Linked DNA regions of Homo sapiens: regions 2, 3 and 4 are each linked to region 1. The links are contacts of gene promoters, found by promoter capture Hi-C in human tissues and cell types (Jung and others, 2019). All regions are on one chromosome and are shown on one strand. The core of a region is centred on a gene start or on the middle of the fragment in contact, and the rest is flanking DNA. Distances in the headings are between cores, read along the strand shown.

The links. The method cuts DNA at HindIII sites, captures the fragments that hold promoters and counts their contacts. A contact is called where the count stands out against the background at its distance.
Region 2: a fragment that was not itself captured here is called in contact with the fragment with the promoter of ZDHHC20 in region 1 in 1 of the 25 tissues and cell types used here (dorsolateral prefrontal cortex).
Region 3: a contact is called between a fragment that was not itself captured here and the fragment with the promoter of ZDHHC20 in region 1, in 2 of the 25 tissues and cell types used here (aorta and dorsolateral prefrontal cortex).
Region 4: a contact is called between a fragment that was not itself captured here and the fragment with the promoter of ZDHHC20 in region 1, in 1 of the 25 tissues and cell types used here (hippocampus).

What each region holds. Positions count from the first base shown.
Region 1 is chr13:21,454,176-21,462,169 of GRCh38, forward strand. It overlaps ZDHHC20 (zDHHC palmitoyltransferase 20), which reads right to left and starts at 5,128. Exons shown (of 13, transcript NM_001330059.2): 1 at 4,879-5,128. The coding sequence starts at 4,996. It overlaps LOC124903131 (a long non-coding RNA gene), which reads left to right and starts at 5,372. Exons shown (of 2, transcript XR_007063713.1): 1 at 5,372-6,004; 2 at 6,208-6,471. RefSeq lists a silencer at 5,041-5,420, an enhancer at 5,284-5,453 and a cis regulatory region at 5,369. The HindIII fragment of the contact is 17,074 bases long and covers 1-7,994 here.
Region 2 is chr13:20,550,632-20,558,625 of GRCh38, forward strand. It overlaps LOC105370103 (a long non-coding RNA gene), which reads right to left. Exons shown (of 6, transcript XR_941725.3): 5 at 5,171-5,338; 6 at 1,003-1,618. Among named protein-coding and RNA genes, the nearest start is that of IFT88, 13 kb to the right of the region's middle. The HindIII fragment of the contact is 9,762 bases long and covers 1-7,994 here.
Region 3 is chr13:20,819,739-20,827,732 of GRCh38, forward strand. It overlaps XPO4 (exportin 4), which reads right to left. Exons shown (of 23, transcript NM_022459.5): 7 at 7,329-7,441; 8 at 2,394-2,551; 9 at 1,966-2,140. LOC124903129 (a long non-coding RNA gene) reads left to right here and starts at 5,206. Exons shown (of 2, transcript XR_007063711.1): 1 at 5,206-5,391; 2 at 6,756-7,116. The HindIII fragment of the contact is 4,182 bases long and covers 1,547-5,728 here.
Region 4 is chr13:20,937,908-20,945,901 of GRCh38, forward strand. LINC00367 (long intergenic non-protein coding RNA 367) reads right to left here. Exons shown (of 6, transcript NR_104058.1): 3 at 4,435-4,693; 4 at 4,234-4,338; 5 at 1,956-2,028; 6 at 657-743. Among named protein-coding and RNA genes, the nearest start is that of LINC00367, 7.5 kb to the right of the region's middle. RefSeq lists enhancers at 1,693-2,192, 5,587-6,163. The HindIII fragment of the contact is 5,625 bases long and covers 1,766-7,390 here.

The sequences.
Region 1 (7,994 bases), core at 3,878-6,377:
ATTAGCCGGGCGTGGTGGCACATGCCTATAATCCCAGCTACTCAAGAGGCTGAGGCAGGAGAATTGCTTGAACCCAGGAGGAGGAGGTTGCAGTGAGCCAAGATCGCCACATTGCACTGAAGCTTGGGCAACAAAATGAGACTCCATCTCAAAACAAAAACAAAAACAAAAACAAACAAACAAAAAGATGAGGTTTCATCAAGCCTCCCAAAGTGCTGGTAGTACAGAGGTGAGCCACTGTGCCCAGCCCAAGAAAATAATTTGAATTGAATGACAACCACAACACAACATATCAAAATTGATAGAATAAAACTAAAGCAGTATTTGGAGGTAAATTTATAGGACTACCTACCTAAGAAAGGGCTCAAATCAATGACCTTGGTTTCCACATTAATCTAGAAAAAGAGCATATTAAACCCAAAGTAAAAGAAAGGAAATAGTAAAGATCAGACAGGAAAACAACAAAACAGAAAAGAGAAAAATCAATGAAATAGAAAACTGGTTCTTTCAATATCAATAAAATACTTCAGAATCAACAGTGTCAAGCTAGCATGTACAATGATAGTGCTTAAGTTATTTATCTTAATCTGCCTCTAAATTTGAAGAAGTTATGCAGGAGACACAAGTAAATATTTAATACAGACTCAAAGGTTAGAGTCCACTCCACAAATTTGTCTGAAAAAAATATAAAAGGTATACCTGTCCTTGAACAAACAACATAGCTCTTTTGTTTGTTTGTTTGTTGGTTTGTTGGTTCGTTTTTGAGACAGAGTCTCGCTCTGTCGCCCAGGCTGGAGTGCAGGGGTGCAATCTCTGCTCACTGCAAGCTCCGCCTCCCAGGTTCATGCCATTCTCCTGCCTCAGCCTCCCGAGTAGCTGGGACTACAGGCACCCGCCACCACACTCGGCTAATTTTTTGTATTTTTAGAGAGATGGGGTTTCACCGTGTTAGCCAGGATGGTTTCGATCTCCTGACCTCGTGATCCGCCTGCCTTGGCCTCCCAAAGCGCTGGGATTACAGGTGTGAGCCACCACGCCTGGCCAACATAGCTCTTTTGAGCAATAGTTTCATCAGAAGTAAAGGGACTGAATGAGATTATCTTTAAAATCTCTTTAAGTTCTAAGATTCTCTACATGCCAAAGAAGAGGTACACATCCACTAACAAGATGACCTGAACAACAAGATATTCTGATAAAACCTTGGGAACCAGAATTAGCACTTGCCTCAAAAATAACCACCTTGACCAAAGAGAAGAAGTTATTCAATCCATTCGTACTTTAAATATCAACCCTGGGGAAAAAAAATCATACGAGAATTTCAGTCTAATTTAAAATCAAGGACCAATATTACTAATTACTTAATCTTCGCTTCTCAGCTTATCACTCCTGTGAGATGGCCGTTTTACATGCATTACCCTCTTCCTCAATTTTGTCCTCAGTATTACTCCCAGTGAAGTGGTGTGTGTGTGTGTGTGTGTGTGTGTGTGTGTGTGTGTGTCTAATTACACAATTAGCAAGTTACAGAGGGTAAGATGGAATGAGGGCCTCTTGGTAATCAACAATTTGTTCAACTTACAGCCAACTGTGGGCCAGGTATTTTTATTGTCTGAGATATTTAGGAATCTTCTGCAGCTGCCTTTTAGGAGAAAAGTACTTTATATAAATATATCATATACAGGACTGAAATCTGCCCTGAGTGTCCAGATCTGGACACCAAATAGATTAGTCATTAATTGTATAGTGGTTAACAGCATGGGCTTTGGAGCCAAACCCCTTGAATTCCAATTCTTACCATGCTACTTACTGGCTCTATAACCGTGGACAAATTACTTAACCTTATGGGGATCATTATTAAGATTAAATGAATTAATACATACATGTAAAGATATAATTATGATCTTCTCCTCCTAGTTTGATAAAGAATACCAGAATCTAAGAATATCCTATAGGCCGGGCACAATGCCTCATGCCTGTAATCCCAGCACTTTGGGAGGCCAAGGTGGGTGGATTGCCTGAGGTCAGGAGTTTGAGACCAGCCTGACCAACAAGGTGAAACCCCCGTCTCTACTAAAAATACAAAAAAAATTAGCTGGGCATGGTGGCGGGCACCTGTAATCCCAGCTACTTGGGAGGCTGAGGCAGGAGAGTCACTTGAACCCAGGAGGCAGAGGTTGCAGTGAGCCAAGATCGCATCATTGCACTCCAGCCTGGGCAACAAGAGTGAAACTCTGGCTCAAAAAATACATATATAAATAAAAAGAATATCCTATAAAAGTATTAAAACAGCACTTTTAAGTAAAACTCACACTTCCCTCCATTTAAGTCCTCCTATAAAGTAATATATCTATACATATTTCAGTGGGAGGGTCAGTACTTATGAAAACAAATACATACAAGTAGTTTAAAGGATAGTTTTAATATGAGTAAATGCACTTTTATGCTCAACTATTTTATACTCCAGTGACACTGCAGACCTCCCAAATTCTCTCTAGTTAAAATGAGATAACTCAGAAGTTAATACAGCCTCTACATAAGACCTTTCACCACCAAATATTTTAAGATTCTGCCAAGCATCAGGCCATAGTTATAGAATGTTTTAACTTAATGAAATTGTAGGGTATAATCTCTACAGAATGGGCCTCAAGCCTAACTAAGTGATCTCCAAAAATATGCCAACCCCTTTATCCCCCCACACCATTATGGACCAAACAATTACAGTTCCATTGACCCTCATAGCTTACTGAAGTTATATGAAAGAACGGAAAGATGTGGGTCACATTCCAATAATCAATTGTGTGACCTAACCAAAAGGACCTATTCGCTCAGTCTCACGTCCTCCACCTGTAGAGATACCTATGCTGTGACATACTGAAAGAATTAAAGGAGAGGGTGAATGAAATGTCCCCTCTATGCCCACTAGCACATGGCACTTCTCAATTCATGTTCATTTCTCCTTCTTTATTTGAAGTGGTGAAAGAAATCAGAAGCAATTTAAGACTTTTCACAGCACTGTTTGATCTCATTTCTTAATATTTTTGACAAAAACCATCTACAGGTTAAGCTGTGGAATCTCAACATAAATGCACATTTTTAGTGTTCCTTCAGCTTTACTTCAAAACCACTACGGGAATTAAAATACGGTAGGAATAATCTTCTGACAGAATAGGAATGACATAACTTTTAGAATAAATGCCCACTTCAGAGTAAATAAGAAGATAAAGGAGGTATCATCATAAGTTGATGAGAATCCTATGATCACTACCACTTTCTGGAAGTAGCTCCCAGAAATATTAAAATCTAGTAATTTTAATTGACTCAAACATCATTTTTAGTAAACATTCTGGTATCCAAAAGCATGAGACTAAACAATGATATTGAAAAGATTAATATTATTTGGAAATGTATTCCACAACTAATTTATTCTGGGCCTACCTGCAGGGATAGTCGTCCCAAAATTAAACGTTCTATAGGTACAAAGTAATTTTAAAACTGGATGTTTTAATTTCAAAACTTATAAATTTTCTGAGCCAAAGCATTCTCTTCCATGTATAGAACTAGGGTTTTAACCAAATACTTGGTTGAAAGCTGTACAAATCCAAACATAATTGAAGTCTTGATTCTGCCACTTTCAAGAGTGGGTGGTACAGATTCTTCTCATTCATAACATTAGTTTCTAGCTGATGTGGTTCGTTATTCAAAGAACACTTAACAGTCCTTCATAAAATGGTAGATTCAGTCTAAGGACTAAGAGTAGAACATTCTGGAATAACAATAACGTTTACAAACACCACTTACCATTTGGTCCTAGGTTTTCATAAAAAATTGATATAGGCAGCAGATGTATACAGAACACCCTAGTTGAGGCCAGTTTAAGTGTAAAATACCCACATACTCAAAGCCTAAGAACAATTTACTTAAGACAAAACAATGTTGGAGAAATTGCCCAATATCACAAATGTAGCAGTCACCCCTAAACAGTGTTTTTGATTAATGACAACCAATTTCCTTCAATCTTAAAGGCAACCAATTCAAGCCAGTAGGTTAAATCCTTGAAGTATACTGCAATGCTACTCCTTTTTTCCAGGGAATCAGATGAGAATTTTGTGCTAAGAACTTATCAGGAAAATGGAAGTAACGAAAATTAACACGCCAAAATATGAGTATAAGAAATATAAGCCTCCTTAATAATCAGCCAAGAAAAAAATAATCAGGTTATGTCTCCTCCCACCCATTCTTTCTGTCTTAACCTTCTGCAAAAGCCGGCTGGATTCAGAGTAGAAATAAACGAATTTTACAATGAGTCGAGTACCACCAAAAATCAAAAGTGGGAGCTTACTCGTCCTCCAGGTCTGACCCGCCTCCAGCCCGAGGCCACCAAAAGACACACCTCCCTTCCCCCAACCCGCCACAGCCGGCTCTACAGGTAACAGGCGTTTCTTCTCGCGCAGTTTGAACAAAAACAATCCAGAAGGAACAGATTTGGTTTTTTAAAAAAAATGAACAAAAGCCAAAAAAGCCACAAACACAACCTAAACCTTCTAAGAAGCTCGACTACTCCCGTTCTGCACGTTCCTTCCCAGAAGGATGCAGACCCCCGGTGTCGGCGGGAACCAGGAAGCTCTTGGGGCCTCCCTGGGCCAGACCTGCACCCGGGAAGCCGCCGCAAGGCTTCAGGAGCCCCAGGTCGCCCCAAGGCCGCGCCGCAGGATTGAACAAAGCGGCGGGTGCAGCAACCTCGGCGCTTCCGAGCGCGTTCGGGGCCGGACGCCCGGCGTCCGGCGCTGGCTCCAGAAAGGCGGCGGGTGTGGGGCGCAGAGGCCTATCTCGCGCCCTAGCCGCGGCCCGCGCCCCGCCGCAGTCCCCGGGGACGGTACTCACACACGCAGAGCTCCACCACGTACGCGTAGTAGGACCAGACGACCACGAAGGTGATGAAGAGCACCGGCACCCAGCCCACGACGCGCTGGCAGCAGCGCCACAGCGTCCAGGGCGCCATGTTCCGCTGGCGGCTGCCGAGCCCCGCGTCCCACCGTTCTGGGGAGCGCGGGAGCCCCGGCGACGGTGACTCGGACGCTCCAGGCGGCTGCTGGTCCAGCTCCCCCGCCTCCGAGGCAGGACTTGTGGGAGCAAAAGTCCGAGGCGCCGCCGGGACTCCTCCCGTCCCGGCGCCCAGCCAGGCCCCGCCCCCACCCCACATCCCGTCGCCCCCCTCCCCCCGCGTCCGTCCCCGCCAGCCCGCCCGCCGCGGGCCGCGGGCCGCCCCCGGTCTCCGCGTCGTTGGGGCGGGGTTTCCGCGGCCGGGGAGGCGGTGAGGGGGCGGGGCCGCAGCTCGGGACCGCCCATGGGGCGTGGCGGGGCTGGATGCGGACAGGCTGGGCGGACGCGGGAGGCCGGGGAAGGAGAGGCGAAAAACACGCCCTTGATGGATGAGAGGGACAGGGGATAGCTTTTGTGGATCGAGACTCAATAGGGGAGGGAGACTATGGAAATGATTCCTTAGCTGATTTGTGGATCTTGGCCCTCTCTGTGTACAGAACTCGCTCCACTGGGGTTCCTGGGACATTGAGTAGTTGGGGCACTGTTTCAAACATGACAAGGCCATTCCCCACTCAGTGTGCGAAGAATGCACATTGTTAGAAGGCTCCTCCTGTGATTTTTATGTTCGTCCATCTTGGCGGAACCCCTCCCTTTCTTGAAGATGGAACGGTAGATACCTGTAATTTCGGGTAGAAGCCATGTAGGGTCCATCAGTTTGATTCGTAACCCAAATTTAAGATTGAGTAGCGAGAAGGAAAGGGCATGTAAATGACCCTCTCCTTGCCCCGCAAACGACTAAGGAAATTTAAAGAATTTATTTACAACTAGAGGTTGCTAAGCAATGACGATAATCATATAGAACCCAGAAGCATCACTGTGAAGACTTCACAATGCAAGGTCAGACGCATTAGAAGGGATTCCAGACCGCAATCTTCATACCAGTTCCTGCTACTAGCATTCAGTTTTGGTTAGAATGAATTTTTGTGTTTGTTTTTTGAAACAGGGTCTTCTCGCTCTGTCGCCCAAGCTGGAGTGCAGTGGCACGACCTGGGCTCATTTAAGCCTCGACCTCCCTGCTAAAGCACTCCTCCTGCTTCAGCCTGCAGAGTAGCAGGGACTACAGGCCCGCCACCATGCCCAGCTGATGTTTGTATTTTCTGTAAAAACTAGGTTTCGCCCTGTTGCCATGCTGGCCCTGAACTCCAAGGCTCAAGGAATCCCAACCCCTCTCCGCCTCCACCTCCCAAAGAAGTGCTGAGATTACAGGTGTGAGCCACCACGACCGGCCTACACTGAGCTTTAAATTAGCTACTGCTCACTAAAGTCTCCATGAAGAAGACGTCACCCTTTGCTGTGTCAGAGAAATGTAGTAAAAGCGAGTAAGTATTTAATCACTGCACACTGCTGCTTGAGTAATAAAGCATGTATAAAAGATTCTGTTCTCCCTGATTTTGTGCCTTAAAAGTCATATTAGTTAGTGGCCTAGTTGACAGTAGGTTTAGGTTCAAGTTCAACTAGTTTTCCAGAGAGGCTGCTTAGGAGGGTTAGACCTCAACATAGAATTCGGATGGACATGGAAGAACATAAAGCCGTTTCTCCTCTATGTCATCTCTACGTACCAAAACCATGCTGCTAGAGCTCAGCACAAAGCCATGTCCTTTACAAGCTCCAGGGCTGCTAGAAATGATCTTTCACGACATTTTGTTTATAACCTAACTATAAAACTGTCACATTCGTTTCCTAGGGTGACTATAACAAAGTACCACAAAACTGGGGAATAATAGAAATTGGTTGTCTCACAGTTTAGGAGGGTAGGTGTCCCAAATCAAAGTGTTGGCAAGGATATTGGATATGGTTTGGATGTTTGTCCCCTCCAAATCCCATGTTGAAATGTGATCCCAGTGTTGGAGGTGGGACCTGGTGGGAGGTATTGGATCATTAGGGTGGATCCCTCATGAATGGTTTAGTGCCATCCCCTTGGATGAGGGGTTCTTTCTCTAGTAGTTCACATGAGATCTGGTTATTTAAAAGAGCCTGATCCTTCCCCCACTCTCTCTCTTGCCCCCTCTCTTGCCATGTGACATGCTGGCTCCCCTTTGCCTTCTGCCGAGAAGGCAGAAGTCTATCTCTGTGGTCCTGTGTCTTCAGAGATAAGGATGTTCCTTTGTCTGGGTAGAGGGAGGGCACCTCTTGAATAACAGTCTTAGGTCTGCCTTCAGGGGAAGGCCTGAGACGCTTTTGCTAGTGCTATGGCCTGCTTCAGGGGAGAAGAGCGAGAGGAAGGTGAGAGGGACCTTCCTGTTGCTGTTGTCTCCAATGTTGTCTCCAACTGATGATTGGAAGCTTCTTGAGGCCTCACCAGAAGCATATGCTGACCCCATACTTTCTGTACAGCCTGGAGAGCTGTGGGCCAATTAATCCACTTTTCTTTATAAATTACCCAGTCTCAGGTATTCCTTTATATCAGTGCAAGAATGACCTAACACAGCCATGTGCCCTCTGAAACTTGTAGGGGAGAATTCTTCTTTGCTTCTTCCTAGCCTTTGGTGGTGACCATTAGTCCATGGCATCCCTTGACCTGCAGTGGCAGTGGCATCACCCCAATATCTACCGCTATCCTCAGGTGGCATTCTCCTTTCCTGTCTCTCCCCTTATATTGGGTTAAGGGCCTACCCTACTCTAGTATGGCCTCATCTTAACTAATTACATCTACAACAGGCCCACTTCCAAATAAGGCCACATTCTTTTTTTTTTTTTTTTCAGTAGAGTCTTGCTCTGTCACCCAGGTTGGAGTGCGGTCACGTGATCTTGGCTCACTGCAACCTCCACCTCCCAGCTTCAAGTGATTCTCATGCCTCAGCCTCCCGAGTAGCTGGGATTACAGGCGTGCACCACCACGTGAGGCCTGCATTTTGTATTTTTGCTAGAGATGGGGTTTCCCCATGTTGGCCAGGCTG
Region 2 (7,994 bases), core at 3,253-5,752, 900 kb before region 1:
CTACTTGAGACCGTCTTTATGAGACTGAAAGAAGGGATGAACGTGGAAATGAAAACTTAAGACAAAAGTAACTGTTTTAAAGGAAGGGTCCAGGGGAAGAAGAAGAGAGCTCCCTGCTTCTAGTGAGCAAAGGCAGCCTCGAGCTTCTTCAGCCCTTCATATTTATTGGGTATAAAGAGCAGGGAGGAGGAGGTAGATTGGTCAGCTGCTTAATTGATCACAGGTTCACATTATTGCTAACAGGATTCAGTTGTGCCTAATCACAAGAAACACTCGTGCCTGGGTTGTGACTGCCCTCAGCATTCCTACTGGGCGGCAGGCACAGTTTGTCAGTTTACCAACATCCTGCTTTCACGAGAACAGTTTGCTGTTTGCTCATATAGCCGCCAGTGGTGCACTGAGTTGACCACGACCCTCATTCTTTCAGCCTCCAACAACTTTACTGCCATCTTCTGGAAAATTGTTTTTATTTTTGTTATAAGTACCAAATCTGTGATGTATATAATGTGAGCAACACCTCCTTAAATGTGTCCTTGTGCAGTGCACAACCCACAACCTATACAACCATATGTCACAGAGGCTATGATGTGTATGATATTGTCTAGGGAAACTGATGTGCTTGAGTATAACTATGTCCAGAGAGATAGTAGGTTCTTGTCAGAAAATTAGGGTTTCATAACCACTTATAATTACTGTAGCTTTTTCCCAAATTACTTCCAACTTCACTTACAGAAAATGTCACTTATGGATTTTATCTTTGTCTAGATTCAGGATTCTAGGGGTGGTAGGAGGATGAGTAAGAGGAAGGGAGATGGAGATCCTGAATTTGAGAAATCTACAAAAATTAGAAGCTGAGAAGCTAAATCAACAAGCATGTAGACTTGCTGAAGGAAACAGGCCAATTAAGATCTTCACCCTGGATGACCCCTTGACTTTCTTCACTGGGGTTTCAGAGAAAGTATTTAGATGCCCGTTTCAAAGTCATTACTGGATAAAGACACATTTGCAATGAAAAAGAAAGATTTTATTTGCCTTTTCTTCTCACAGTTCAATAATTTTGCATATAAGACTTGGTTTTAAAAATACAAAATGATGATTCTCAAAGTAAATGAACCACCTCAAAAAGACAAAAACCTACCATCTTCCGAAAGAACTCTCACTTTCCTCGGCATTAAACACACTCAAACCAGTGGAATCAATGGGAAACTAACAATGTTTTTGCAGAGTGACATCCCATTAGTCACAAGGGGAATTTTGAAAAGCACACGTAAGCATAACATTAATTCATTTCCCAGCATTCTGTATTGTAGTAGCCTAGAGATTTAAAAGAAATTACCTCACTTGTCTTTAAAAACTACACTCTACCTTTGAACAATTAGCAGATTGGGCACCAACTGCTCCTGCCCCGTGCAGTTGAACACTTGCCTATAAGTGACCCGCACGCAGTTCAAACTCATGTTGTTCAGAGGTCAGCTGTATGATCAGGTCACTAATGAGTCTTCAGACCATGTTTTGGGGCTTACAAACAAAGATAGTTCATTCAAAAAATTTTTTAAATGGTGTAGTCAGGTGATCTTAATAGTCTCTCCATCCTTGCAGCACTGTCCAACAGAACTGTCTGCAATAAAGGAAATGTTCTATGTCACATTCTCCAACACAGTAGCCACTATTCCTGTGTGGCAGTTGAGCACCTGGATGTGGCTAGTGTGACTGAAGAAATGAATTATTATTATTATTATTATTATTATTATTATTATTATTATTATTTAGACAGAGTCTCACTCTGTTGCCCAGGCTGGAGTGCAGTGGTGTGATCTTGGCTCACTGCAGCCTACGCCTCCTGGGTTAAAGCGATTCTCCTGCCTCAGCCTCCTGAGTAGCTGGGATTACAGGCATCCACCACCACGCCTGGCTAATTTTTATATTTTTGATAGAGATGAGGTTTCACTCTGTTGGCCAGGCTGATCTCAAACTCCTGACCTCAGGTGATCCACCTGCCTTGGCCTCCCAAAGTGCTGGGATTACAGGTGTGAGCCACCATTCTCGGCCTGAAGTTTTAATTTGATTTAATTTTGAAAAGCACACATAAGTATAACATTAATCAGAATTATTTTTAATTTAATTTACATTAATTTTTTTATAGAGACAGATCTCACTATGTTGTTCAGGCTGGTCTCCAACTCCCGGCCTCAAGTGATCCTCCTGCCTCAGCTACTCAAAATGCTGGAATTACAGGCATAAGCCACCACACCTGGCCTTCCATTTAATTTTAAACAGCCACGGCTAGTGGCTACTGTGTTAGGTGCGCAGCTTGCATATGCTCTCGTATCTGCCAGGAATGCCTTCCTTCTGGCTTATCCATTTGTGAAACTCCTACAAATGAATGGATGGATGAAGGAATGAGTGAACTTGTTACTGTTAGACCCTGTATAGAGCTGACGTGGATCAACAAAGATAATTAATGCTGAAAACATAATGCACTTAATTTCACTGTTTCTTGTCATCAAATATCTTTGTACAATATTTATTTGGTTTACTTGAGTGCTTGTTTTTTAGTGATTTTGGATGCTGAACAAGGGAGAGTTGACTTTGGGTTGGAAAGAACTTACTGGTTTCTTTTCAAGCCACATTCCAGCCTTCACTGATCCTACTTTCAAGTTGAAAAGCTAAATTCATATCTGTTATTATGAAACCAATTTAATTACTGACTCAAGCAAGTAGAAAAAATGACATGTTATACTATGGAATAAGGCTTTTTATAAGCCAGCTCTTCTGAAAGCAGCAAAAGAAAAGCCAAAGTGATGGAAATTTACTTTGCACACAGACTGCACAAACGCCCTTTTAGAAATCAGCTTTGGTGTGCATGAAAGCCTGGCTGTAACAACAGCGCAGTGTGTGAGTTCATGAACCAGCCAGCCTGTGCTGCTTTGTAAGGAAACCTTTCACAGGGCCCCACTTTGCTCCAGGCACAAGCAGGGTCATGTGGGCTGCAATTAGAGCATGCCACAGGCCAGCTTTTTACTATTTTCCATCCATAAAAGCGGCTTGTATGTTTATTAGAGTATTTTTCCACTTTTCTTTCTTCCCTCTGCTCCACTCCCTTCTGTTTTAATCAGTGATCTCTGAATACAGACTACCTTAAATCTAGAGTATTCTACTGATTCTTAAAAGTGAGACGTGACTGGGCACGGTGGCTCACGCCTGTAATCCCAGCACTTTGGGAGGCCGAGGCGGATGGATCACAAGGTCAAGAGATTGAGACCATCCTGGCCAACATGGTGAAACCCTGTCTCTACTAAAAATAGAAAAATTAGCTGGGCATGGTAGTGCACGCCTGTAGTCCCATCTTCAGGAGGCCGAAGCAGGAGAATCTCTTGAACCTAGGAGGTGAAGTTTGCAGTGAGCTGAGATCACACCATTGCACTCCAGCCTGGGCGACAGAGCGAGACTCTGTCTCAAAAAAAAAAAAAGTGAGACGTTTGTGTGAAGAGAAATCTTACTTTTGAACCTGAACTAAAATATAAATAAATACTAAGGAGCTCCCCCTTAACAATAGTTAAGATTCCATTCATTGTGAACATTGTCAAACTAGCAGGCAATAAAACGCTAGGGTGGGCCAGGTGCGGTGGCTCACGCCTGTAATCCCAGCACTTTGGGAGGCCGGGGTGGGTGGATCACAAGGTCAGGAGATTGAGACCATCCTGGCTAACATGGTGAAACCCCATCTCTACTAAAAATACAAAAAATTAGCTGGGCGTGGTGGCGGGTTACCCTGTAGTCCCAGTTACTTGGGAGGCTGAGGCAGGAGAATGGTGTGAACCTGGGAGGCAGAGCTTGCAGTGAGCTGAAATCATGCCACTGCACTCCAGCCTGGGCAACAGAGTGAGACTCCGTTCCCCCCTCCCCCAAAAAAAAGAAAAGAAAAGAAAAAAAAAAAACCGCTAGGGTGTAGTACCCAAAAGAAAGTAGATGAGGTCAAGGACTCAAAAGAAGGTAGATGAGGTCAAGGACCCAAAAGAAGGTAGATGAGGTCAAGGACTCAAAAGCAGCTACAGTGGGAAAGGCTATGCCCACCCCCTCCTTTTGCAGGTGACAAGACACAGTCCTAGAGAAGGGACCTGCCCAAAGTCACGCAATAATTCAGTAGCCATATCAGAGGAAGAGTCAGAGTCCCTGACTGAGAAAGGTAAGCTTTCCTTGGCCTTGGTCCTCAGGTTTTCCCACTAAAAAAGCCCTGTGGTGAAGGAGGATGAACGTGTTTCCCTTCTTGGGTCAGGAGACCTCTTCCAAACTTAGTATTTCACTGATAACAGTGTTTTTAAAATCTGCCTATTTTGTTTTTGTTGTTGTTAGAAGTTTTATAATTTATTTATTATTTTTTAAATAATTTCAACTTTTATTTTAGATTCAGTGGGTACGTATGCAGGTTTGTGATGTGAGTATATTGCATCATGCTGAGGTTTGGGGTACAGCTGATCCTGTCACCCAGGTAGTGAGCACAGTACCCACTAGTTAGTTTTTAAATCCATGTCCCCCCCTCCCCATTTTCTTTCTTTCTTTCTTTCTTTTTTGAGATGGAGTCTCACTCTGTCGCCCAGGCTGGAGTGCAGTGGCCCAGTCTCGGCTGACTGCAACCTCTGCCTCCTGGATTCAAGCGATTCTTCTGCCTCAGCCTCCTGAGCAGCTGAAACTATAGGCATTCGCCACCATGCCTGGCTAATTTTTGTATTTTTTGGTAGAGACAGGTTTTCGTCATGTTGCCCAGGCTGGTCTCGAACTCCTGAGCTCAGGCAATCTGCCCGTCTTGGCCTCCCAAAGTGCTGAGATTACAGGTGTGACTCACCACACCCGGCCCTTCTTTTTATTATTAAAACATCTAAGACCAGAGAGAAAATGTATTCTACACATCCATGGGGGAATGCAAGAAATATAAGGCATGACCCCTGTCTCCAAAACCTTACAATGATAATATTAGTGATTATGATAATGATGACAGTAGCGATGTCATCCAAGAGGTGGGAGGCAATGCAGACTTGAGTCTTTCTAAAATGATTGTGAGGGTACCATAATCGGGAATAAGTGGAAACCACGGAGGTGCCATTACACTGAAATAAGCACTTCACACTCACAGAGAAGACCGCCTCTTGACAAACCATAGAGATACACTTACACTCCAGATCCCAGGTCGCTCCAGAGCCCACAGACTGCTTTCCTGACGGAGACCGGATTCTTAGGGCCTCATCCCCAGAACTGAAGTTCTCTGGGTCAGATCAGATTCCTTGCTTGACAGTAAACCTTTCTCCGAACCTCATCTTTGCTCCCAAAGTCTTTATCTCTCCTTAACAGAAGAAAATAAGGTTAGAAAGGCAGGCGAAGTTCTTGGGAGGCCGAGACGGGCAGATCATTTGAGGTCAGGAGTTCGAGAGCAGTCTAGCCAACGTGGTGAAACCCCATCTCTACTAAAAATACAACAATTAACCGGCCATGGTGGCACACGCCTGTAGTCCCAGCTACTCGGGAGGCTGAGATGGGAGAATTGCTTTAACCCAGGAGGCAGAGGTTGCAGTAAGCCATTGCACTCCAGCCTGGGTGACAGAGCGAGACTCTGTCTCAAAAAAAAAAAAAAAAAAAAAAAAAAAAAGGCAGGGGAGGTTCACGATATGGAGAGTTTGAATGCAGGTAAGTAGCTGCAAAATCATGGCAAAACTGATAGGAATAGAAACTGAAGTTTGCTTATACCCAAAAAACAGTAAACTCAACACAATTGTTAGAAATTCCTCTGAAATATCCTGTTTAAAAAAATTTTTTTAGAGGCAAGGTCTTGCTCTGTCACCCAGGCCGGAGTGGAGTGGTGTGATTATAGGTCACTGCAGCTTCATACTCCTGGGTTCAAGTGATCCCCCCTGCCTCAGCCTCCCTAGTAGCTGGTACCGCAGTTGCACACCACCAAACTTAGCTAATTTTTTTTTTTTTTGAGACAGTCTTGCTCTGTCGCCCAGGCTGGAGTGCAGTGGCATGATCTTGGCTTACTGCAGCCTCCACTTCCCAGGTTGAAGCAATTCTTTAGCCTCAGCCTCCCGAGTAGCTGGGATTACAGGCGTCCACTACCGCACCTGGCTAATTTTTTGGGTATTTTTAGTAGAGACGGGGTTTCATCATGTTGCCCAGGCTTGTCTCAAACTCCTGACCTCAAGTGATCCACCCGTCTCAGCCTCCCAAAGGTAGGATTATAGGCGTGAGCCACCACACCTGGCCTCAGCTAATTTTTTAATTTTTAATTTTGTTTATTTTTTTGTAGAGACAGGGTTTTCCTATGTTGTCCAGGCTGGTCTTGAATTCCTGAGCTCAAGCAATTCTCTTGCCTCGGCCTCCCAAAGCACTGGGATTATAGACATGAGCTACTATGCCCACCCAACTGAGAGACTTGTTTTTTACTGAATCATCATCTCTGCATGGAAAATTAAAAAGAAAATGGAAGACATAACAAGTATGTGGATAATTCTAAATGTTTACATAAGTCAACTAAACTATTGGGTTATTCTTTGTTGTAGACATTAAGAATTTTCAGTAGTAATAAGGCTGGGAGCATGACTGTGGCATTTTAAAACCAGATTTAAGTGGAAAGAATGATCCAAGACAAAAATCAAGATTAAACAAAGAAAGAAGAGGCAAAAGCAACCAACTGCTTTGCACTAACTGTATGACTGCGTTACTTTACCATTAGAAGGCCAGGAGCTTGGCTTTTTCATCCTTTAAGTCACGAATGGTGCTAAGTCATTATCTATCTTACCTAGTTCCTCTCTGACAAACAATATGCTATGAAATTAACAGTCGGACTTTAGTGAGTAGTCCTTTCTTTAAAAATAGACTTCCTTAGGGCCGGGCGCAGTGGCTCACGCCTGTAATCCCAGCACTTTGGGAGGCCGAGAGGGGCGGATCACGAGGTCAGGAGATGGAGACCATCCTGGCTAACACAGTGAAACCCCGTCTCTACTAAAAATACAAAAAAATTAGCCGGACGTGGTGGCGGGCGCCTGTAGTTTCAGCTACCCGGGAGGTTGAGGCAGGAGAATGGCGTGAACTCGGGAGGCGGAGCTTGCAGTGAGCCGAGATCGTGCCACTGCGCTCCACCCTGGGCGACAGAGTGAGACTCCGCCTCAAAAAAAAAAACAACAAAAAAAGGCTTCCTTAGATAAACTGCGCTTTAGTTTATATGCTGCCATTAGGGCCTGTGATAGTAGGGACACAACTTGAAATGCCCCATGGTTTCCTGTATGCTACATACTAATTCCGACTTGCTAAAGGCTGCGGTTTTTGTGGTGTGAGTGGACATAGGACTCTTTCATCAGGGTAATTTATAGTCCAATGTCCATTTGTTTTAGAACAGACTGAAATTGCTGGCAGGCTAAAGTTAATTTGTAATTTGCAAGTAAGAAATCTTGCAAGCCTGGTTTCAAAGTCTGATTTTGGGTTAAAGTGTGAGTACACTGTGTAGTCACAATTTAGGATCTAAAGATCCTGTCCAAAGGCCATGAGTATGATTTCCCTGGACTTGATTGGTGACAGTTAGAAAAACAGTGTTTTTCATATTAAAGAATATGGGTCTCGGCCAGGCGCGGTGGCTCATGCCTGTAATCCCAACACTTTGGGAGGCCGAGGCAGGCAGATCACGAGGTCAGGAGATTGAAACCATCCTGGCCAACATGGTAAAACCCCGTCTCTACTAAAAATACAAAAAATTAGCCGGGCATGGTGGCGGGCGCCTGTAATTCCAACTATTCGGGAGGCTAAGGCAGGAGAACGGCGTGAGGCCAGGAGGCGGAGCTTGCAGTGAGCCGAGATCACACCATCACATTCCAGCCTGGGTGACAAGAGTGAGACTCAGTCTCAAAAAAAAAAAAAAAAAAGAATATGGGTCTCACTTAGGTGACTCTTAAGGGAGAGAGTACAGTACATTTGAGGCAGAATATGTGAAATTGGGCCTACCTATTGTC
Region 3 (7,994 bases), core at 2,388-4,887, 640 kb before region 1:
GGTGCCCAAGAAAACAAAAGATGAAATGGTTTCTGTCCCAGAGGTCCAATTTGGTTTGGCTGGATTTGTTCCTATATTTCTGGTATTAGCTGTATACTCCCCTGGTCCTCTACTCCCAGCATACAGAAGATACAACGGAAACCGCTTGAGGTTGAGATGACATTTAGGAGGTTTACTCTTAAGAAAGTCACCATGCCTGGGCCACCCCATTAGCCCTCAACTTCACCACACATCCCCAACCTGGTTTCTACGACTAATGCAAAACTTTAAACAGATCTTTTCCCTCTGTCCTTTTCAATAGGTGACCAATTATTTTAAAAAATAATTTTTAAATATCATAAACAGCTCAATTAAAAATTAATTAAAAGAGTAAAATAAATGAAAAGAAATAATACTTTTCTTGAATGAAACCTGTTAGGTTCATCTTCACTAGAGCACGCCTGCTGTGAAATAAGCACAACACACATCTGCTTCTCTGCAAATGCATGCAGGCTTTCTATATTCCAACACTCCTATGTCAAATCTTGAAGGAAAAATTGTCAAGATGTCAGTGTCCTCAAATAAATTCTGCACTTAAAATTTGCAAACCAAGGATGCCATATATCTTCCAGCAATTCTTTAAAACGTTTAGGAACACGCTTAACTCACAAACAGAACTAAAAGGAGCTTAGTTTCTAAATATAGGATCAACATGCTCTTTAATCCACCTGGTTTAGAAGAGAAAATAAACCAAGGTGGAGAGGGAAAGTGCAAGGAATTCATGTTAAATAAAACCTGACTAGTTCAGAATCTGTGATCATTTGAAAGAGGTTTGAGTAAACTGTAAATACTTAAAATGTTAAATACTTAAAATTACCCTGGATTTTTATGTTTAGAATGTAAAGTATCCCTCTGAAACATTCAACTGTACATATCATGCCTTTAAACTTCTATTTTTCTGTTACTACATTTTCTCTACCGTATAAACACTTGTCTGACCTGGTTCCTTTCCTCATCAAATCATGAAAGTGCCCGATTACATAAACATAATCATTCTCGAGTTCTCTATTCTCTGAACACCTCTGAAGGGATACGAAAAAACTCACATACACGTTGGCAGAATCTAACCAACACAACTTACAATTTAACATGAAATTCTAACAAAATATCTACATTCTTTTTCCTCTTACAGCCTTTCAGAAAGATTCACATTTTGACTCATAAAAAGAAAAATTAGTTTCAACAATTTAATCACTACTTTGTGGAATGAAATCAATTTTTTTCCATGATTAATACAGCTATTCAGAGTAACTGTTACAAAAGCAGCTGTGTCCTCAAGGGGTTTTAGTAGACGTCTAAATTTAAATATAAAATATGGAAAATACACATTTGGAAATTTGTACCAAAAAACATCTTCAGTATTGTTATTGGTCTTAATTTCAATGTAAATTAAATTCTACCAGGATACACTATTAAAGCATTATCATCCAAAAAATTAGAGAGCACAGTCTAACCAAAATAAGCAAGGTTTCAATGATTTGAACCAAATTATGTTTACATAATTGCCAAATAAGTCCAACGTAAAAAATTCTCAAAAAAAAAAAAAATTACACGTAATTACACCACACCACAGCAACACCCTGTAAACAATGTTTTTGCTGTTAGAAAGAGCCTTCGACATAATTTTTACATGAAAAATTGTGTTGAACAAACCACAGCTCATTTCATTCCATCTCTTATATTTGGGTACTAAATTATCTCAAAATTAAATGCTTAAGACCAGTAAATATCACCAACTAAAGCTATTTTAATCCACAAATTTTTAAAGGTCATGTTTCCCAAATAATTTGCACATCTAAACAAAACAGTCACTTTAACAATAGCCAGCACTCACTTAAAATAATTACTTGTCATGAGAAATGTTCCAAAGGCACCGCAAATTTCCTTGTGAAAACTGACACAATTTACTTTAGAATAGTCACTCACCACTTCTTCCAATGCAGCACTTCGCCCAAAAGAACAAGTGAGGTGTGTGAGGCAGTTAACAAAGGAGGAGAAAAGTTCACTTGGAATGGCAGTTAAAACATTTCGTGGGAACACGGTTATCAGGTTGCTGATAATGCTGGAGATCCCCACAGCTTCAGAATCTTCTATTTCAATTCTAAAACCAAGGAATGAGTATTATTAAGTGGCAGTAAAAGAAAAATTATTAATATAATAACTCATTTCCAAACAAGCAAATATCGTTACTGATTCATTTTAAAAGGTATGTCTCTGTTTATTAATTTCAAATTACCCATATGACTTTACTTCAAAATATAAGGGGGAAAAAATAACTAGTTTCTTTTTTTCTTCTACTGTTAAACACAAAACGTAGAGCTCCTTTTTCAGCTGCAAAGGGCAAGTATACCTACCCATTGATAGTATTCAGTAATCCCTCAATGAAGTGTGCTAGATAATCAACTTGTGATCCTTCATCTGGGAAGATGGGTCCATGAAGAGAAGCTAACTGGGCAAGGCACTGCAGAGAATCTTGTGCCATATCTGAATCTTCTCTGATTTTTCGATGTACCTGTTAGAAAGAATTACTAATCCATAAATATAAATTCTTCCTTTGTAAGGGTCACGTGTCTACCATGCCGAATGAGGTAAGACAAAAATTCACTGTAGCTGGTTATTTCTAGAAAATTAATTCCTGAATTAAACTAAATTGAAAATTGTCCCTCAGTCCACTTTACATTACAGGTCATTATTTTAAACATATCAATTGATTTTTAACTGAGGGCTACCTACATTTTGAAAATTGATCTGTCTCCAGCATGTTATGACAAAGAGAGAAACAGATGCCAGCCAGTCAGACATACTGCTTCTTCTAAAAACAGCAACAATGACAGTCATCTGTATTATGCTAACTATGCCTAGCTACAGCTTCTTGCTAAACTTAGCAGACAAGTTCAATAAAGAGTATATAGATGCTGCTTTAGTGGAAGTAAACAGTTGTGCACTTAGAAAAGCAATATACCATTGAATCCCTAGACATTCATGCATTCATTCAACCAAAATATAATGAGCACGTTCTTTTATTAATTCTCAGTTTGCTTACAATTTGTTTGAATCTCAGTTTAACCTACATCATTGCTATTAATAAATGCTAAAAGATTTTGAATACCAAATGTAAATTATACTTAAATCCATTTAAAGCTAACCTATATTTTACTTCAGTGATACAATACGGACATGAAACACCTGGTAGAGTGTTTTGTATGAAGGGAATGCTCTTGAAATACTGCTCCCTAGTTTTATAGTATTAATATTCTCAGATGTTAAAGGTTTCATTTCTGTAATCTGACATATTAGAGCCAAGGAAAATTTAGTGAAGGAATATGATCATTATTAATCTTAATCCATCCAACACTTACTGTTGGATGTACCATTTTGTACTTGCCGAAGTACTTAACTAGCCCTTTTCTTTCCCACACAAAGTTCTCTCTCTATTTTGTAAATGTTGTGTAACATCAAACTCATAGTTTTAGGCTATATTCACTTTGACTAGGCAAATTGTTTCTAAATTACTTCAGGTCAGAACATTTAAGTACTCACTGGTATGCTGGGCCACAATGAACACTTAATAAATCCTTGTTCACTGAGTCCCTTAATCCTTAATCTCTGAACTTCTCAAGGTTCTAGTAATGAAATTTAAAACACTAAGTAATCTCTAAACATTACAAAGTTAGTTGATTTACTGACATGCTTAAAATATGCTATACTCTTTGGACTAGAACAAACCACAGCCCATAAGCCAAATTTGGCCCCCGCCTGTTTTTGTATGGCTGTGAGCTAAGAATGGTTGTGTTTTTTTCTTTTTTCCATTTTTGTATGGTTGGGGGGAAACCAATAAAAATAATATTTTGTGACCTGTGGAAATTACACAGAATTCTTTTTTTTTCCCCCGAAACAGAGTTTCACTCTTGTTGCCCAGGCTGGAGTGCAATGGTGCAATCTCAGCTCATAGCAACCTCCGCCTCCCGGGTTCAAGCAATTCTCCTGCCTCAGTCTCCTGAGTAGCTGGGATTACAGGCACGTGCCACGGCGCCTGGCTAATTTTTGTATTTTTAGTAGAGACGGGGTTTCGCCATGTTGGCCAGGCTGGTCTCAAACTCCTGACCTCAGGTGATCCACCGGCCTTGGCCTCCCAAAGTGCTGGGATTACAGGCATGAGCCACCACGCCCGGCCAACATTCACATTTTAATGACCATCAATAAGCTTTACTGGAACACCGCCGTGCTTATTTATGTATCATCTATGGCTGCTTCTGTACTACAATGGCAGTGTTGAATATGAACATATGACCTGCAAAGCCTAAAGTGTTTACTATCTGGCCCTATACAAAAAATGTCTGCAAATCCTTGGTCTAAAATACAAATATTTTTCAAACTATATTCCAATGTATTTTAAGTTTTATATAGTAAATTCCAAGTACAATAGACAAATTCATATATGCACACTGTCTAGTTCATAAACTTCTGAACACAACTCACTCTTATAAGTTCTTTATCCGAAATCTGTAATTAAATTTTTGTCACGATGCCTTAGAATCTAATCAGCATTTAAGCATGATATCCAGGGATATATTCTGTCAACAGATAGAATGTAATCTGGGACAATAAGAATACATCTCACAATCTTGAATGTTCATTATGGTCTCGAAGCGAGCAATCAGAAGAAAGAATACCCTCAATGAAATAGCTAATGAAATAACTAAAAATAAAGTTAAAATAAATAAATAACTGTCTTTCGAGACGGTGTGTGCTGTTCAAGCTTAATTTATGTTACCTGAAATATAAACCACATAAAACTAATAATAAATGCTTAATTTTTATACAATATAAATTCTTGCCTTTCTTCCAATGTCATCATTACAAAAGAGTTCCTCCATATCTGAACATGTATTTCAATATAAACTGTATCATAAAACGGAAAGCTGAATCACCACCTGAATATGGAAAAGGGACAGAGGGATAAGGGAAAGCAAAGCCCAGCAGGACGCCCAGTGAGATGAATGGCAAGGATATGCATCAAGAAAAGGAAGACAAGGAAGGAGAAGCAAGTAAGGAAGATGACGAATTCTACTGGAACATGTTAAATCTGAGATGTCTGTTGGCCATCCAAATTAAAACATCCAGTAAGCACTGGGATTATAAGGCTCTGAAACTCTGGAGCAGGCTGTGCTGAATATAGATGTAGGAGTCATCTGGGAACCGGTGCCTGAAGTCCTACGTGTCAAAGAGAGAGCCACAGGAAAGTGTACAGAGTCAGCAAAGTTGAGAACTAAGATAGGAATGCCAATATTTATGTGATGAGCAAAGAAGGAAGAGACCATAAGCGAGATCAAGAAGACTCTGGTCAAAAAGGTAGGAAGAAAACACAATGAAAGTGGGTTTTTTTTCCAAGACCTTATAGAAGGAAAAAAAATCAAGAAGTTTGTAAACTTCTATAGGGCAGAATGCAACCCAAAGTATTCCAACATATTTAAAGTCTTATGATTAACATATTTAAAGTCTTGCTCTTATGCAACAGTATACTGATGCTTATCCAAATCTAGCACAAGTGATATCCAGTGGAAAAGTGCTTTAAAGTAGGCAATAAATTCATATAACTAAAACTAAATTTAACCAAAGTTAAATAAAAAGATTAGCCATTGTCATTTTTAAAACAAGTAACAAACTTGTTCATAAACTGCTTAAGTGAAAATAGCTACAAACACAAAAATTGTTCAAATAAAGCAAAAAAGGGTTAACTTTCAAATTCAAGTTATTTGCGTGTGGTTGTTCACAGCTGACAGGAGCAGCTGTCTGGTTTGTCTAGACAGCTGTTCAGATCTGGTAGAGTTGTTTCCAGTACTGCCAGCAAGTTTTTCACCTTTTCAAAAACTGCTGGAGTGGAATCTACTTTCAGTCAAGTGCATAATACAAAGACTTGGACTTGGATTCGTATCAAAACAATTCCTGTCAGATGAGGCAGGCAACGGAATTTTAAAATTTAGTTACAATTATCTCTTTGATCTTGATAGTGGTTTTAGCCATCATTTCTCTGATTTTAAAAAGAAACCACAAGGTGATTTAATGCTCAGTCTGAATATTTCTATAGAAAATATCCTTTATATATACCCATGGATAGATAACCTTGTTCTAGATATTTTAAAATACATACCACATAACTACTTTATTTTAAATGGTTCAATCAGAAAAAGGCAGTTGAAGGGCTCATCTATATTTTTACAACAAATGAAAAGAAACTAAAATTAACAATTGGGATTAAGCAAAATAGCTTTTTTACTTTTAATTGATTTTTACTTGGGCTTCTGTCCACGTCATTATATCTAATTAACTTGTATATTCCCCCTATAACTGCAAATTAGCATCCAACACATAAACACACACATATGAATTGTTTTTCCAGCTTTTGACCGTTTTATTGGGGATACACACTGGCCAATGTGGGAACATACTGCTTACATCTTGATATTTAGCCAATAATAAAGAGGACTGTCTAAAGTTATACATGAGATAAACTGCTATTCCATAATACCAACTTAACCAATGACTCATAAATATAATAAGTATAAAACCTACACTCTAGAATAGCAGTTCTCAAACTATGGCCCAGGGATCCCTGAAGCTTTTTAAAAGCCTGTCAGGTTGCCTGTGAGGAAAAAAACTATTTGCATAATAATATGAAGACAGTATCTGCGTTTCCCATTCTCACTGTCACACAGGTAAAAAGTGGAATTTCCCCGAGGCCACACGATGTGCGATACTGCAACTAACTGAAGGCAGAAGCAGGTAAGATAATCTGACTGTCTTCTATTAAGTCTGATATTATAGATTTACAAAAATGCAAAACAATGCTATTCTTCTCATTAAACTTGCTTCGTTTTCAAAAATATAGTTAATTAAAATGTTACTTATGTTAATATGTAATCGTTTCTTACTGTTACTTTTTAGCACATTATTTTGTAAAGTTTTGTTTGAATTTTTAACAGGACAAATATAACCTATATAAAGAAAAGCTCTTTGGAGTTCTCAATAAATTTTTAAGAGTATAGAGGGGTCCTGAAATTAAAAGTTTGAGAACTTCTGCTGCAGGATATTAAGCCCTTCATAACCATGTGACATTTTTATAAATTAGCAAGAACCTTTTAAAATAATTTCTGTTTAAGCAGCCATACTGATGAGAAGACAAGACTTTAGGGGAGAAAAGCAATCTGTTCTGTTTTACTTAAGAAACTCGCCAAGGCATTTCCTCTTTTCTATGGCTCTTGCTACCAGAGATGAAGACTAAAACTTACTGTGAAGAAAAGCTCCATAACTCTGCTGTCCAGAAGAGTCTCCCGCCAGGACTCTGTTGGCTTCAACAGCACATTTTGCGAGGATTCAAACATAGCTATATAATGTCTGCCCAGTTATTTGGTGTCAAGGTCAACAACAATAACATTCTTACTTTGTCTAAAGTATAAGTATATCCTAAATATAACAGGAGCCATCTAGAAAGAATTTGTAATGGTAACAGTTTAAGCCTCTTCACATATGCTACATAATTCATCCATGAAGCTAAGGAATAGAAGGCATTAAGTGCCTGGGGAAAAAAAGAATGTTACAGGAATGTAAGGTAATGCTTTCATTGTAATTATGTGTCATGCTGTAGGCATACAGAAACTTTGAGAACCAGAGAATTTAATGGTGGCAACAGAAGGAAATACACTTACTGCAAAGCATATGCCAAAATTCATGTAAAAAGAATCAATTTCTGCAAGTTTATCCCATCATTTCCCCCAATATCTTGCAACAATTAACACCACATATACAAAATGTGAGTTTCATATAGTCTACTTGGAAAAATAGCATTTTTCCAGAAGAAATATATTCACTGGAAAAGCAAAAGAACAAAAAGAGTAAACACATATAATATTAAAGAAAAAAAACTCCCACAGGTCACAGTATCTAAATATCAAGAC
Region 4 (7,994 bases), core at 3,328-5,827, 520 kb before region 1:
CAAGCGTGAGCCACCGCACCCAGACTTTTTTTTTTTTTTTTTTTTTAATTATTTATTTATTTTTTTCTTTTTTTATTTTTTTGAGACGGAGTCTCGCTCTGTCACCCAGGCTGGAGTGCAGTGGTGTGATCATAGCTCACTGTAGCCTTGACCTCTCTGGCTCAAGAGATTCTCCTGCCTTGGCTTCCCAAGTAGCTGGGACTACAGAGGCACATCACCACATCTGGCTAATTTTTAAATTTTTTTGTAAAGACAGGGGTCTCACTTTGTTGCCCGGGCTGGTCTCAAACTTCTGGGCTCAAGTGATCATCCACACACCTCGGCCTCCCAAAGTGCTGGGATTACAGGTGTGAGCCACTGTGCCTCACCTCAATTTTGTAGGATTTTTGTAGGATTTTGATTCCAATCTTTTCTCTGCCACTTATCATTTGTGTGCCCTGAGTGAGTTCCCGTCATCTCGGTATGTCTGTTTTTCATCTGTGCAATAGGGGTCACAGTACCTACCTCATGCTGGGTTTGAGATCTCCGTGTGCCACATATTAGCTTGGGACCTTGGGCTGATTAGTTGTCCTCTCTGAGCCTCAGCTCCCAAGCCAGGAGGTGGAGCTAATGTGGCTGCCTCCAGGCATTAGCACGAAGATGGGCAGGGATGGCTCTGAGCACCCAGCACAGAGCAAGACCCCTTCACCCGGTAGACACCTGGCAGACGGGAATTACCACTGCTTATGATACAATGGTATTTCCTAAATTTGAAGATAATGTTGAAAGTAAGCTGCATCATGGATTTAATAATAGTGCTTTGAGTGAGAGAGAGAGAGAAAAAAGAAACCAATGTGGCATTCAGTGCATAAGAATAAAATGAGGTGTTGAATAAAAAGACTTGGGCCGGGCGTGGTGGCTCATGCCTGTAAATCCCAACACTTTGGGAGGCCGAGGTGGGTGGATTACCTGAGGTCAGGGGTTTGAGACCAGCCTGGCCAACATGGTGAAACCCCGTCTCTACTAAAAATATAAAAATTAGCCAAGCATGGTGGCGTGCGCCTGTAGTCCCAGCTACTCAGGAGGCTGAGACAAGAGAATCGTGTGAACCCACAAGGCGGAGGCTGCAGTGAGTCGAGATTGCCCCACTGCACTCACTCCACCCTGGGTGACAGAGTGAGACTCAAAGAAAAAAAAGTCGAATTTTTATACACATCCGTTAGGGACTTTTCACATCATGTGCATTTCCATAAATCTACACATTGTATTTTTGCACAGACTTGTGTTTCTAGGTGTGTCTGGGGCTCCAGGATTCTCTTACAGGAGACGACTGTTCAACTTGTTTTTAAATGAAAACACTAATGTTTCGTTTTATTTTTTTCCCTGCATGAAAAGTAACAATCCACCATAAAGCAAGGGGCATGCCCCCCGACCAAGCCATCCTTGCTCAGGGGTAGAGAGTAACCCTTTGCGGGGAGTGGGTGATAGTGCTAAGATTTGGGTTCTGGTTTTAAGGAGTTATCTAAAGTTTAGTTCTGAAAGAAGACGCAAAGGGGATTTCTCATGGAGGAATGCAAGCCTATGGGACAGAAGGCGATGAGTCAGGAATCGTTGGATTGGGTCACCAAAAGCCTGGGTCCTGATCCAGGATGCTTGTCCCAAAAGGGGCCCCACATACTTGATTAAGAAGGAAAGAGTGAGACCACTGTGAGGGGCAACAGTCAAGGATGGGGGGCAGAAGGGGTCTTTGAATCTGAAGCCCACCAGGGGCTGACTGTCCAGCTTTGATGTGAGCAAGAGCCCCTTTGAGGAGCTGCCCAGGCTAGTTCCTTCCACAGTGGCTCAAAGACAGGAGTGCCTGATCTGCTGCCGACTGGCTGGGAGACTGAGATTTGTTGCAGGCCAACTAGTGCATGTGACCCAGTGTCAGATATATCCCCAAAATATCCCTGGCAAGTGGCGGGATGATCTCCTACCCCTTCGCTTGAGCAGGCCGGAGGCCAGGAGCTGAGACTCCTCATTCTCCATTTCTGTTTACCTTCTCCCCAGCTGGGAACAAAGGACAAGAATTTGGGAGTGACAGGCATGTGGCCACACACTCAAATGCACTTGTTTATACCTGTTTGTTTACTGTTTCAGCAGATTCTTGCTTAGCAATAACTGAGTTTATCTCCTTGTCTTAAGGAAACTCTTAAGAATGTTATTATAATGTAGTAAAATTTAAATGTCTCTTGAATGATGAAGCACTAACTAATGTGCTATATCTAAATGTAGAAATGCACATTTACGAGTATTGTCCTCTCCCGGCATTTTCATCTGAACACTCAGTCTGTTGACAACACTCAAAAACTTCATAAAAGATCACAATCTAGCACTTAAGTTCTACAGATAATGTTGAAATCTTGCACAAGATTTAGGAATCTCAGGCAATGACATGCATAACATTGCTATTAGGAAATGTGTAATATACTCTTCTGTTACTATCAGTGGAAAGTCAAAAAACAAACAAACCATAGTGATAAGAGCTGTGTGAATTAAGGAATTTTAGAGCTGAAAGTGACCTTCGAAATCCTAGAGCCTCACCCATTTTTACCTTCTAATAATCGTGCTGTAAAATATCACACTTACACTGTAGAAAATTTGGAAATATACAGAAGATGTTTAAAATTAGGAAGAAAAGGCTGGGCACCGTGGCTCATGCCTGTAATCCCCGCACTTTCGGAGGCTGAGGTGGGCAGATCACAAGGTCAAGAGATCGAGACCAGCCTGGCCAACATGGTGAAACCCAGTCTCTACTAAAAATACAAAAAATTAGCTGGGCGTGGTGGCGCGCGCCACTGCAATCTGACCTAGCGACAGACTGAGACTCAGTCTCAAAAAAAAAAAAAAATCAGGAAGAAAAAAATCACCCACAATTGTATCACCTACAAGAGGTCACCATTTTTTAAAACTTTGCCGTATTTCCTTTCAGACATGTAAAATTTTTGATATATTTATTTTTTTCTTTTTCTTGCTACAAAAAACTGAGATCGTACAGTTTGTATCCTTCACCCTTTACTTAACATTATATAGTGATAATTTTGCTTTTTATTAAAAACTTTTTGAATATGGAATTTTTATTGATTACATAAAATGTGACAGTATGGCATAGAGTCATAAAATATTTGTAACCGTCATCATAGTATTGAATGTGTAATTGCGTTTAAAGATACTATAGTATAGATGTGCTAAGGGAAATACTTTTGTGCATAACTGTTTGTCCCATTTTTAAATTGTTTCTGTAGAAATTGTTGCCAAATTTTGTTCCAGCCAGGTGCGGTGGCTCGCACCTGTAATCCCAGTACTTTGGGAGGCCGAGGTGGGTGGATCACTTGATGTCAGGAGTTCAAGACCAGCCTGGCCAACATGGTGAAACCCTCTCTCTATTAAAAATACAAAAAATTAGCTGGGCATGGTGGTGCGTACCTGTAATCCCAGCTACTCGGGAGGCTGAGGCAGGAGAATTGCTTGAATCCAGGAGGCAGAGGTTGCAGTGAGCAGAGATCTCACCACTGCACTCTAGCCTAGGCAACAGAGGGAGACTCCATCTCAAAAAACAAAACCAAACAAAAAAACAAAACAAAACAAAATTTTGTTCCAGAAAAGTTATAACAATTTTTATCAACAACATGAGAGTGTCTATTTCAGTGTAACCTTTCTAGAATCAGAGTATTACTTTTTTTTTTTGAGGCAGAGTCTGGCTCTGTCGCCCAGGCTGGAATGCAGTGGGGTAGTCTTGGCTCACCGCAACTTCCGCCTCCTGGGTTCAAGCAATTCTCTGCCTCAGCCTCCTGAGTAGCTGGGATTACAGGCACCTGCCACCACGCCCGGCTAATTTTTTGTATTTTTAGTAGAGACAGGGCTTCACCATCTTGGCCAAGCCGGCCTTGAACTCCTTACCTCAGGATCCACTGGCCTCGGCCTCCCAAAGTACTGGGATTACAGGTGTGAGCCACCATGCCTGGTCGAGTATTACCATTTTTAATAATGGTAATGGGTAATATAAAATAATGTTATTTTAGGAAACAATTCTAAAGCTTCATTTTCAGGAGACTGAGATTTTAGAAGCTACTTCTTTAATTCTTATGACATAGAGTCGGATTAGACACAAAATAAATGTTATGAAAATGCTACTACTGTTCTTTGAAGGCTGTTTATAGTTTGTAGATGCTGAGAATATGGTGAAATGGTAAACTATGCATAGCCTTAACTTACGGAGTGCTAGAGTTTTGGGCTGAGGAGCTGGTCACCATTGGGCATCTGACAACTGATTGTTTGGGCTTCTGGGACTGTTTCTGGAGGGGCCTGGATCTCAGCACACTGTGTCAGGTAGGAGAGGAAAAAAACGTTATCTGTTTGCTCCTAAGCTCATTGGTTGAAGATTCGCCCCACAAGCTTCAATTTCTCTGCACTTACTTTTTTCTCTGACTTATTGTGGGTTTCTCAAGCATAGGGGCCAGGGGTCCTGTGAGGTGGGTGCCATTTGGGATGCCACATGGAGCTGGCAGTGTCCACAGACAGCTGGTTTCTGCAGTGGCAGCAGGGTGGAGTAAGCGTCCAACGGTGTCCAAAGATTTGGAGTGGTACTTAAGAGGTGTTTACACGAGCAACAAGGTAAGTAGAGATAACTGGGCCTTCAATACAGAGGTTGATGGAAACACATCTGCAAGTGTACCTGATTCAAATCATCACACAGTAACCCCTCCAGGGGAATGTCAAATTCTGTACTGTTTTTAATGCTCAGCTGACACATTGCTCTAGTCCAGTGGTTCTAGAACTTTTTGAGCTTAGGATCCCTTTATACTCTTAAAAATTATTGAGAACTTCAGACAAATTCATATATATGAAGTGAGGGGACAGAAAGGAGGTATATCTATATCCATATCTATCTATCTATCAATATTTATCATATTAAAAATTAAAATGGAAAAAAATAAAGAATATTTATAGATGGAAAAGTGGCCATTATAAACCAATTACATGTTAACACAAATAATGTGTTTTATGCAAAATAACTATATTTCCCAAAATAACAGTTAGTGGCATCAGTGGCATTGGTTTACATTTTGCAAACCTCTTGAATAGCGGGTTTAATATCAGATAGTGGAATTCTCTTTTTTTTTTTTTTTGAGACATTGTCTCGCTCTGTTGCCCAGACTGGAGTGCAGTGGTGCAATCTCAGCTCACTGCGACCTCTGCCTCCCGGGTTCATGCGATTCTCGCGCCTCAGGCTTCCGAGTAGCTGGGATTTATAGGCGTGCGCCACCATGCCCAGCTAATTTTTTGTATTTTTCGTCGAGACGGGGTTTCACCATGTTGGCCAGGCTGCTCTTGAACTCCTGACCTCGAGTGATCTGCCCACCTCGGCCTCCCAAAATGCTGAGATTACAGGCGTGAGCCATCGCATCCGGTCGCAGATGGTGGAGTTTTTATTTCTGCTTCCACATTTGACCTGTTACCATATGTTTTGTTTGAAGTAGATGGGGAAGTCCAGCACCCCCCAGGTATACAATTGAAAAGGGGGACTTCGTGTGTCCCTGAAGTCCACAGACCACACTTTGAGAACTGCTGCTCAAGTCTAAGTTGCGAATTTCTCAATTACATGAACAAGACTCTAGCGGAAACCAGTACTGTGTGCGCTCAACAGACTAAATTGTTTGGAAAAGCGTTTCCTAGGAGTTGCTATAAACCAAATGACTCATTTAAACGTTTTTATTACTTTGACAAATACTTCGGCTCTGCAGCCTGTTCCTTTTTTAAACCAACTTGCCTCATTACACAGCTGTGGTCTGCACAGCTTTGGCCACCAGGTGGCTCCCACCCCCAGCCTTTTCTAGAAGGATCCATTCAGGACGCTTCATTCCTTGATGGCGCCCTAGCTGCTCAGGGCACTCAGGGAAACTTTATTTTGTTCAACATAAGAAAAGAGTCAGTTGTGGGAGGCCGACGCAGGCGGATCAACTGAGGTCAGGAGTTTGAGACCAGCCTGGCCAACCTGGCAAAACTCCGTCTCTACTAAAAATACAAAAATTAGCCGGGCATAATGGCGGGCACGTGTAATCCCAGCTACTTGGGAGGCTGAGGCAGGAGAGCTGCTTGAACCTCAAAGGCAGGGGTAGCAGTGAGCCGAGATCATGCCACTGCACTCCAGCCTGGGCGACAGAGGAAGACTCCATCTCAACAACAACAACAAAAAAAAAAAAAAAAAAAAAAAAAGAGGAGAAAAGAGTCAGTTGGGTAAGGGGAGGATTATTTCAAGGAAAAGGGAAGTTAAGAAAGAATAGAACTGGCAGTGCGTGGTGGCTCACGCCTGTAATCCCAGCACTTTGGGAGGCCGAGGCGGGTCTAACACGAGGTCAGGAGTTCGAGACCAGCACAGCCAAGATGGTGAAACCCCCTTCTCCACTAAAAATACAAAAATTAGCCGGGCATGGCAGCAGGTACCTGTAATCCCAGCTGCTCAGGAGGCTGAGGCAGAGAATTGCTTGAACTCGGGAGGCGGAGGTTGCAGTGAGTCGAGATTGCTCCACCGCACTCCAGCCTGGGCGAAAGAGTGAGACTCCGTCTCAAAAAAAAAAAAAGTATATTTAACATAGGAGGTTGGTAAAAAAAATCTAAAAGAGTTGGTCTGAATACTGGAAGAAGTACTATATGGCACCTTTACTCTCTTACCAGCTTAATGTAGCTTTTTCCTTCTCATTGTTTTTAACTGATATGCTTAAATTGGGTATTATTATCTCTACTAAAATGGTTCTCTCTCAAAGCAAGGTGTTATACTAGATACCACGTGGGATAAACAAAGAGGTGGTGGGGAATGCGCCCCTCCACCCTGAGAGACAGGAGGTGTGGGTGTTTTCACTCTAGCACATATTCACTGTGACACTGTGGGGTTACTTCTGTTTCCTAACCTGAGTGATCCACCCCACTTACAAGAGAGGGCTGATAATCCTTAACTGTCCAGAGGTTTGTTTCCAAATCAGATTGTCTCTGGAGTTCCTTGCGAGACTCGAAATACACGATTCTGTGATTCTATTTCAGTCTGGTTGAGTTCTTTAGTTGCAAGCAACAGATAACCAACTTGGTTAATCTTGCCCAGTTTCCTTAATAAGACTCATACGGCCCTTCGCTACCTGGGCCCTGCCTGTGCCTCCAGCCTCAAATCTTCTTCAGGCACTGTGAAGCTCCAGACATATGGCGACATCCCCCACACCATGTGTGCCCCTTCTCCGGCCTCTGCTGCCTAATAGTAGGTTTCAGGTAGGCATCACTTCCGCTGGGCTGCCTTCCATGACCTCCCCAGTCTGGATCGCGTCCTCTCCTGGGTGCTCCAGCAGCAGCTTCCTCCACTTCTCCATCATACCTTTGAGACTATTGTATTATAATTTTCTAAATGCTTTCCCCTCCTGTGAGTCCTGGGCAGAAGGAAGCATGTCCACCTTCTTCACGGGTATCCCCAATACACAGTACAGTGTCTGGCACACAGCAGGTACACAAAATATATTTAATGAAGGAACAGAGGAAGGGAGAGAAGATATCTCTTCTTGGATAGTGCCAGTCATATATTAGGTGTTCATTAAACATTTGTAGAACCGAACTGAGAATGCTGAGCCCTTTAACAGGATCCTCAAAACCTCGTAAAATAAACACAGATAGGCCGGGCGCGGTGGCTCACGCTTGTAATCCCAGTACTTTGGAAGGCTGAGGCGTGTGGATCACAAGGTCAGGAGATCGAGACCATCCTGGCTAACGCAGGTGAAACCTGGTCTCTAGTAAAAATAGAAAAAATTAGCCGGGAGTGGTAGCGGGCGCCTGTAGTCCCAACTACTCGGGAGGCTGAGGCAGGAGAATGGCATGAACCCGGGACGCGGAGCTTGCAGTGAGCCGAGATAGCGCCACTGCACTCCAGCCTGGGCTACAGAGCAAGACTCTTGTCTCAATAAAAATAAAAAACACAGATAATAATAGGATTTTGCCGA